Regions from separate parts of the Homo sapiens genome. Here all the other regions are linked to region 1. Evidence: promoter capture Hi-C in human tissues and cell types (Jung and others, 2019). All regions are on one chromosome and are shown on one strand. The core of a region is centred on a gene start or on the middle of the fragment in contact, and the rest is flanking DNA. Distances in the headings are between cores, read along the strand shown.

The links. Contacts are between HindIII fragments. The study calls those that stand out against the background at their distance.
Region 2: a contact is called between the fragment with the promoter of CSPG5 here and a fragment that was not itself captured in region 1, in 2 of the 25 tissues and cell types used here (bladder and lymphoblastoid cells).
Region 3: the fragment with the promoter of FBXW12 here is called in contact with a fragment that was not itself captured in region 1 in 1 of the 25 tissues and cell types used here (dorsolateral prefrontal cortex).

Annotation. Positions count from the first base shown.
Region 1 is chr3:47,936,682-47,939,438 of GRCh38, forward strand. The region is part of intron 3 of MAP4 (microtubule associated protein 4); the gene reads right to left. Among named protein-coding and RNA genes, the nearest start is that of MAP4, 78 kb to the right of the region's middle. RefSeq lists a silencer at 2,264-2,464. The HindIII fragment of the contact is 4,708 bases long and covers 1-2,757 here.
Region 2 is chr3:47,577,536-47,580,492 of GRCh38, forward strand. It overlaps CSPG5 (chondroitin sulfate proteoglycan 5), which reads right to left and starts at 1,330. Exons shown (of 5, transcript NM_006574.4): 1 at 1,062-1,330; 2 at 1-393. The coding sequence starts at 1,158. RefSeq lists silencers at 541-630, 681-740, 781-830 and an enhancer at 1,955-2,659. The HindIII fragment of the contact is 21,614 bases long and covers 1-2,957 here.
Region 3 is chr3:48,370,570-48,373,468 of GRCh38, forward strand. It overlaps FBXW12 (F-box and WD repeat domain containing 12), which reads left to right and starts at 1,650. Exons shown (of 11, transcript NM_207102.2): 1 at 1,650-1,751; 2 at 2,115-2,288; 3 at 2,739-2,776. The coding sequence starts at 2,199. The HindIII fragment of the contact is 16,322 bases long and covers 1-2,899 here.

The sequences.
Region 1 (2,757 bases), core at 241-2,740:
AGAAAACAGAATCAGGAGCCCAGGCACGGTGGCTGGCGCCTGTAATCCCAACACTTTGGGAAGCCAAGGTAGGCAGATCACCTGAGGTCAAGAGTTCAAGACCAGCCTGGCCAACATGGAGAAACCCCGTCTCAACTAAAAATATAAAATTAGCCAGGCATGGTAGCGGGCTCCTGTAATCCCAGCTACTCGGGAGGCTGAGGCAAGAGAACTGCTTGAACCCGGGAGGTGGAGGTTGCAGTGAGCCAAGATCGCGCCACTGCACTCCGGCTTGGGTGACAAGAGCGAAACTCCGTCTCAAAAAAAAAAAAAAAAAGAAAAGAAAGAAAACAGAATCAGGAGACCCAGGTTCTAATCTTGACTCTGCCACTTAACTTTGGGTGTGACCTTAAGACTGTTAGAGCTACACTACTCATCCAGAATTAAAAAAAAAAATTGTGCTACATAATTTCTGAAGCCCATTTTAATTTTAAAATTAATTCTGAGACTTTTGACTTATCCATTCATCTTTATAATTCTCAAAAATCTGGTAAAACATAACTTACAAATAAGACTCAGCAGTTATTAGACAGATGAAATACTTGGTCATTTAAGTAGATGAAAGTACTCATTACTTGTCTAAGCCAGAAAAATGACGATGAATTAAAGAACAAACCACAGCATCCTCGGGAAGGTTCACAAGTGGCATATACACTGAGCAGAGGGGAAGAAAAGGTGATGAAACTTGGATAAACGCCTTTTTAAATTAGTAAAAATATTAAAAGCAATATGTTTTTTCATAGGATTAATATATTTGTCTTAGTTCTTGAATCACAAAACACAAATGTAATAAAACAACCCCATTCTGGATTACTGCAGTGAAATTAATCAGAAAATTATAGGAGAAAGATGTTTCTGATGTTCTCAGGTTGAAGGTAGGAATCAATCTCAGAACCTTTGGCTACCTTCAAGAACAGCTTTTCCTTTTTCTTCTTCTTTTTTTTTTTTTTTTTTTTTTGAGACGAAGTCTCACTCTTGTCCCCCAGGCTGGAGCGCGATAGCACAATCTCAGCTCACTGCAACCTCTGCCTCCCGGGTTCAAGCGATTCTCCTGCCTCAGCCTCCTGAGTAGCTGGGATTACAGGCGCCTGCCACCATGCCCGGCTAATTTTTGTATTTTTAGTAGAGACGAGGTTTCACCATGTTGGCCAGGATGGTCTCGAACTCCTGACCTCAGGTGATCCGCCCGCCTCAGTCTCCCAAAGTGCTGGGATTACAGGCATGAACCACTGCACCCAGCCATTTTTCTTCTTTTATTATTATTATTAAATATTCTAAAAAATCTATAGAGGGAAAGGAGGGAGAGAACAGCTGGGCACCAGCAGACATATTTGAGTTCTTACTTTTATTTTATTGAGACAAGATCTCTGCTGGGTGTGGTGGCTCATGCCTGTAATCCCAGCACTTTGGGAAGGCAGAGGCAGGCAGATCACTTGAGGTCAGGAGTTAGAGACCAGCCTGGCCAACATGATGAAACGCTGTCTCTACTAAAAATACAAAAATTAGCCACGCATGGTGGCGCACACCTGTAATCCTACTCGGGAGGCTGAGACAGGAGAATTGTTTGAACCTGGGAGGTGGAGGTTGCAGTGAACCGAGACTGTGCCACTGCACCCAGCCTGGGCGACAGAGCGAGATTCTGTCTCAAAGGAAAAAAAGAAAAAAGGGAATTGTTAATTGAGACAAGGTCTGACTGTCTCCCAGGTATAGTGGCGCAATCACAGCTCACTGCGGCCTCAACTTCCTGGGCTCAAGCAATCCTCCCCTCTCAGCTTCTCCAGTAGCTAAGGACACAGATGTGTGCCACTATGCCCTTCTAATTTATTATTGTTATTATTTTGGGGGTAGAGACAGGGTCTCCATACATTGCCCAGGCTGGCGTTGAACAACTGGGCTCAAGCAATCCTCCGGATTTGACCTCCCAAAGTGCTAGGATTACATGCATGAGCCTCTATACCAGGCCCATATTTGAGTTCTTAACCCTGGCTTTGCCACAGGCTAACCATGTAAATTTGGGACAGCCCTTTCATCTCTCTTAGTCACAGTAATGACCTCTAAGGATACTTGTTCAGTTCTAAAATTATGGTTAAGTAAAAAACATTCTTCAAGTCACATCCTATTTAGAGAAGGTGCACCTATCCATCTATTTCAAAGCTTATAAAGACGATGTGTTTAGGGCTTCAACAACACAAAACATTATTACGGCAAATGTTAGATGCTAATCTAAAGCCTTCCTTACCCATCAAATGAACCCATCCCAGGCTTGTTCCCTACTACTCCAACAGGAAAGTCATGCAGTAAGTATGCTGTCCCCTCATGGCTCCTGCTAGAGCCTGTGCTCCACTCTGCCCCTGTGCCTTTGCTCATGAGATCACTGATCCCCTGCTTGAAATGTCTCCTCCCTGATCCAATTCCAAAGCCACCACTTGGGCCTCATAGCTTCCACAGAACCTCTCTGATGACTTTAATGCTCATTTTCCACTACTTAGCTCTTTTACCATTCACTGTTACTAGGAAAGAATTTAGTCCTTAAGCACATGTTTTCCTGTTAGTCTTTTTTTAAAAAATTAAAAAGCCTTTAAGTATTCTATTTATCATTAAAATTTTCATTATTTTACATGTTAGTAAGTGAACTCATTAATGTTTAAAAAGAAAATACTGTGCTTTTACTACTTTTATTTCCTCACAATGCCTAGCTAACTGCATGAGACAGAATAG
Region 2 (2,957 bases), core at 80-2,579, 360 kb before region 1:
CTGGGCTCAGCTTGTCGCCGGGGGTGGGGGAGGGTGGCCCGCTGGCCTCTGTAGCCTCAGGAATGGCAGGGGGCATGATTGACTGCCCGAGGACCTCGTGGGGAGCCTGGAGCGTAGCTGGAAGGGCCTGGGCATCGCCGCTGCCCGCCTCTGCGGTCACTCCTCCCAGGCCTGGGCTGTCAGCTTCCAGCCAGGCGGTGCCGGTCACCGCAGCCGACTCCTGCAGCACCTCTTCTGGCCCGGCCAGCTCGCCACCGGGCGCCGTCCACGACGCCTCATCTTCCCCAGCCGCTGGTGGGCCGGCTTCTTCCCGCGTGTCGTTGGCAGGCGGCTCCCACGCCGGGCTGCCCTTCACCAGCTCTTCGGCCTCAACCGCGCTGCCCGCCTCACGCGCTGCGGGCGGGAGGGCAAGGGGCGGGACGTCAGGGCGGCGCGCTGAGGAGCCCTGGAGCCCCGGCCCGCCCCGGTCAGGCCCGCTCGCCTAGACCTGGTCAACCCAGACCTCGCCACCCTCAGACCCCACCGCCCCAGTGTGACCCCAGCCACCCGGTACCTCTAAGCCCCGTCCCGGAGTCTGCCCCCAAGACGAGGATCACACCCCGCCCAACGCCTCGCGGCTCGGCCCCGCCCGACCTGCCCCGCCGTCTGAAGAGCCAGGCCAGGGCGGCCCCCAGCTCGGCCCACCCATAAGTCTCACCCTCGGGAACCCACCCTGAGCCGCGTCCACTGGCTCCCGCCCTCAGCTCCAGGTCCCGCCCCGAAGTCTCACCCTCAGGCCCCGCCCCGGCCCCGCCCCGGCCCCGCCCCCGGCCCCGCCCCCAGTCCGCACCGCGGCCCGCGCGCTTGGGTCCCGGCTACCCCAACCGGGGTCGGCCCCCACGCGGGTCGGCCTTTCCCGGACCCCCACCACCTCCTGGGACCATTCCGCCGCCCGGCCGCGGCCAGGCGGTGCCCCGCCCCCTTGCCACAGCTCACAGCTCCACCTGTCCCCGCCGCCAGCGGGACCCCTGCCCTGGGTGGGGCACGAGGGCCGCGGGGGTCCCGGGCGCAGTCATACCTACCCGGCACGGCCCCAGAGGCCAGGACCAGCGCGGCCCCCAGAAACAGCAGCAGTGGCGGCGGCCCCCGGCCCGGGCCCCCGCCCCCGGCTCGCCCCATGGCGCGGCGCCCCGACCGCTGTCCGCGGTCCGCCCGGCTGGCTGCGCCCTCGGCTCGCCCGGCCGCCGCGCCTCCCGCCGGTTCTGCGGCCGCCTCAGCCCACGATGGGCAGCGCGAGGAGCCGCATGCCGCCGCCGCCGCCGTCCGCCGCTGTCCCCGGCGCGCCGCGCCTCCCCGCCTCCCGCGCCGCCGCTGCCGCCGCTGCGCTCAGCGCCGCCCTCACCCCGCCCGCCGCGCCGGCCCCGCCGCACGTAGCGGTGACGCCGGCCCCTTGGTCAGCCTGCCAGGGGAACAGACAGACCCCTCGCTGGGGACTAGGAGACACACGGACGGGGAGTGCGGGGCAGGCGGACGGGGAGCGCGAGGCAGGCGCACGGCGCGGCGCGCGGCGTTAGGCGGCAGGTGCACGGGCGGGAGACCTGTGGGATGGGGCCACGGTCCCGCCCCAGGTGAACAGGCGGCACGGGGCCCCGACCCGGAGGAACCCACCCGCCACGCGGCAAGCACGGAGGCGGGGACGTCGCGGGCCCAGTTACCCGCAGGGTCGGGGCGGGGTCCAGAAGAGCCGCAGGGGGCGGAAGCACGAGCCCCCACTGTGGAAACAAGCCAGGCCCGGGGCGCATGGAGCCTCTCGGATTCTGCACCAATCCCGTGTTCCGGGCGGGAAGGCTCTCAGGGAGGTCTCCGGGTCTCCACGAGGGAGGGGCGGGCGTTGGCAGAGCCTGGCAAGGGGGCGAAGCCGACCGCCCAGGCTCTAATCGGATCAGATCTAATCCGTTCGCAGCCAAAGCCACTAGCCTAGATCTCGCACAGCCAGGCCCGCCATAACGCATCCCGGGAGCAAGGGGTAAGACCCTCCCTGGGACTGCGGCTACCTCGCCTTCCTTCTAGTCTCCGGGCAGCCTGGGGAGCGGCCTTTAATCCTGGTCCCTTCTCCGGGATACGTCGTCCCCCAGGTGTCTCAGACCACCAAAACTCAGGTTCCTGGGTAGACCAGGGGGGTCTAGATCCCCAGCCGGGCACACATGGATGCTTGGCTTTAGAGTGATCTGTGGGGCCCATTCACAGCTTCAGGGCTCACAGGGCAACCCAAGACCACGCACCAGGAGGTCTGCTTAGTCGGCAGGAGGAACCGCAACCTAGTTACTTAGTTTATTCCCCCAAACCGACCGTCTACCCCTTAATGTGTTACTCACCCAAATGACAGTTCAGGGTATCAGCCCAAGGAGATAGGACAACTCCAGTATTTAAGAGACGGTCCCATTGCTGTCTTAGAAGACCAAATAAGTGACCAAGATGGAGATTCTATCTCCTAATCTTTCTGATACATATCTCCAGATGGAGTTGCCTTGGTTCAAAACCTGTTTCTCAGCAGAACTATGGCTGCAGCCTATTTGCCTAGCCTAGCGTCTCCACCTCTCCTGCCTGGTAAACTCCTCATGCCAGAAAAACTCAGTTCTTATCACCTTTCCCTCTATGAAGGCTTCTCAGCAGTTACACTTAATGCCCATCATCTCATCTTATCTACAGTTATTCCTCACTGGACTGCAAGGCACTTGAGTGCACAGGGCTGGTAACAGAGGGAGGCTCCATATCAGACAGGCATAAATGAACGAATGGCAACCACCCACACCCATCCCAGAACTGTGGTCTGGAGAGCCTTGAAAAAAGGGGTAAGGCTCTTTCTTTCATAGTTTCATGCTGCCTCCGGGGACCAAGTAAAATATGTTTGAAACAATAGCCTTCTCTAAACAGGGGACCATGTAGGGCTTTGCACTCACCTCAGCCACAGAGGCAGC
Region 3 (2,899 bases), core at 400-2,899, 430 kb after region 1:
TCCCCAGCTGCCTGCTTTAATCTACTTTCTCCTAGACAATGTCCGGACCATTCTCTCACCTGCATCTTATCTTTTGCTTAGACTATTACGCAGTTACCATTTCACATCTCTCAAATTTTACATCTCTTAACTCTTGTGACATTTAGATTTGTCTTCATCTATTGTTGCAATGTGTCTTTCTCTGCCGCTTTTCTGGTAGCACCCCGCCACCACCACCCCCCAACACACCTTCCTGTTCCTCTATTTTTTTTGTTGTTGTTGTTGAGATGGAGTCTCGCACTGTCGCCCAGGCTGGAGTGCAGTAGCGCAATCTCAGCTCACTGCAACCTCCACCTCCCAGCTTCAAGCAATTCTCCTGCCTCAGCCTCCCAAGTAGCTGGGATTACAGGCACCCGCCACCACGCCCAGCTAATTTGTTGTATTTTTAGTAGAGACAGGGTTTCACTATGTTGGCCAAGCTGGTCTCAAACTCCTGACCTGGTGATCCACCCGCCTCGGCCTCCCCAAGTGCTGGGATTACGGGCATGAGCCACTGTGCCTGGCCTCTGTTCCTCTATTTCAAATTCATTCATTCACTCATTCGGCAATTTGCTTCAGTTTCCTTATGTTTGCCTCTTTCTCATCTGTCCTCTTTTCCATTTTATTCCTACTCTGTCTCAGTCCACTTACAGTTATATTTCCTATCTGTGTATTTTATAATATTTGTGCTTTAATACTTTTAAAATATCCTTTATTTTACTGTTTCTTCTCTTCCCTTGTCATATTTTAAAGTGTTTTATTTCTCAGCCTTCTATATCTTTGCATTAATTCTGTTCCTCTACAATAGAGTCCGTTCCAAGCTTTCTGTCTTCCTGTGTCCTTCCACGGCTCTGGCTCTCTCTGCATTATTTCCTATTTATGGAATACAAATCTTTTACCCTTGTATTTTTCTCACTCCTCTCCACACACCCCTTGACTCGCCTTTCCCCACGCCCCTCTAGGTGCTTCTTGGTCTTTGCTTTTCCTTTTTATTTCCTCACCATGTCAATTTGTATTTTTCCTCTCTCTTACTACTGTATCATAAATGGGACTCCCGACAACCACTCCCGTGTGTCTGCCTGGAGGCAGCAGTTTTAAGAAGGGTTGGCCACTGAGCCTCACAGAGGGACCCCTGTCTTATGCTGCAGCAAAGTACCATAGACTGGGTGGCTTACAAACAAATTTATTTCTCACAATTTTGGAGGAGAGAAGTCCAAGAGTCACCTGTCAGCACGGTCAGGTTCTGGTGTGGGCCTTCTTCCAGGTTGCAGCTGACACCTTCTCATGTCCTCGCATGATATGAACAGGGCTAGAGAGCGTTCTGGGGTCTCTTTTATAAGGTCACTGGTCCCATCATAAGGACTCTGCCTGTGACCCACTTACCTCCCAAAGGCCCCCCACCTCCAATCACACCAAGGGTTAGAATTTCAACGTAGGAATTTTGAGAGGACACAAACACCCAGGCTATGACACGGTCTTTAGAAAATCCCAGAATGAGTTGTCAGGTTCTTGGGAGATCTGTAACTGTGGGAAAGCGTCACATCCCAGGGAAAGCCACCAGCTGGGAGAGCCATCCCAGACAAGGCCTGCTCCCTTTGGGCGGACCTCTGTGGAGAAGCCAGCTTGGCACGTTCTTTCTCCTCCACTGCAAAGTTAAATGCGAGAAGGTAGAAACCCAGAGGCCATGCTGGCGCTGAGAGATGAGCCCCACTCACCAGATTCAAGATCCCAAGGTAGGCACAGACACAGGGCAAGCAGACTCCAATTCCAGGAGTTTGGAACTTAAATAGAGTCATAGAGACACTCAGATCTGATCAAAGTGAGTGCACTCGGTGACATTTCCTAAAGGGTTCTGACAACTTCATCTGCAACTGGGGCTGCCCCAGGTTCTGCACCTCCAGCTCACAGCGCACAGGTGTTGCTGAGCTCCTCTAAACAATGAACAGCACTAACAAGTGGGTTTAGGTAGGGATGCCTGCCAGCTGTGTGGATCAGGCCCCAGGGGAGAGGCCGGGGTGGAGGTCAGCCCGGGAGTCTGCACACCTGCAGCTTGTTTCTACCGCACACAGATGGGCATGGGTGAAAATCTTTACAAGTGCTGCAGACTTTGGCAAAGCCTATAAATTCAGAGCAGCCCGGAGAGGAGAAAGGAAAGTGGATGTGGGTTCAGGCCGCATGAAATGGAGATCCGATTGCCTGACTTAGCTTTGAAGCGAATCTTCTCTTTCCTGGACCTGTTCGGCTTGCTGCAGGTTTCCCAGGTGAACAAGGTAAAGGCCTTCCACCTCCCACTGCCCCCCAAGCCCGCTGCTTCTCTCGACCAGTTTGAGCACCACTTTGCAGAATAGCAGAGGGTTACACTGAGGCTTTGGGGGTTAGCATTCTTCATACTGAGGGCCTCATATTCTGTTAAACGAAAAGGACAAGCTGATATCCAGGAGTTGTGCTGACTAAACAGTCCTTGAGGCTCCCATTTCAAGCCCTAGGAAATCAACACTTCTTCCTGTGAATTCATGGGAATACCCAGTGCCTGTATTAGCAGTGATAGGTCTCTGTTGTTACCATTTCCTTATCTCCCCACACTGAGAGTGCTTTGAGAGCTGGAATCCCATCTGATTAACCTGTGCGGGCCCAGCTCCCAGAACAAATAATAGCAGAGGATTACCCTTGCTCTCTGATGTAACTGATTGCCTGCTTGTCTCTTCCTTTCTCTCCCATAGCATTGGAATAGGATTGCAGACAGTGATTACCTGTGGAGGTAAGGGAAGGGAAAGGGCAAGGAGGGAAGGGGAGAGGAGATCATCTGACTGCGCACCCATGCTGTGTCCCAAGGCCTGTGTGGCTGTGTTGTGAGATATACACAGGAAAGTTAGTGTGAGTA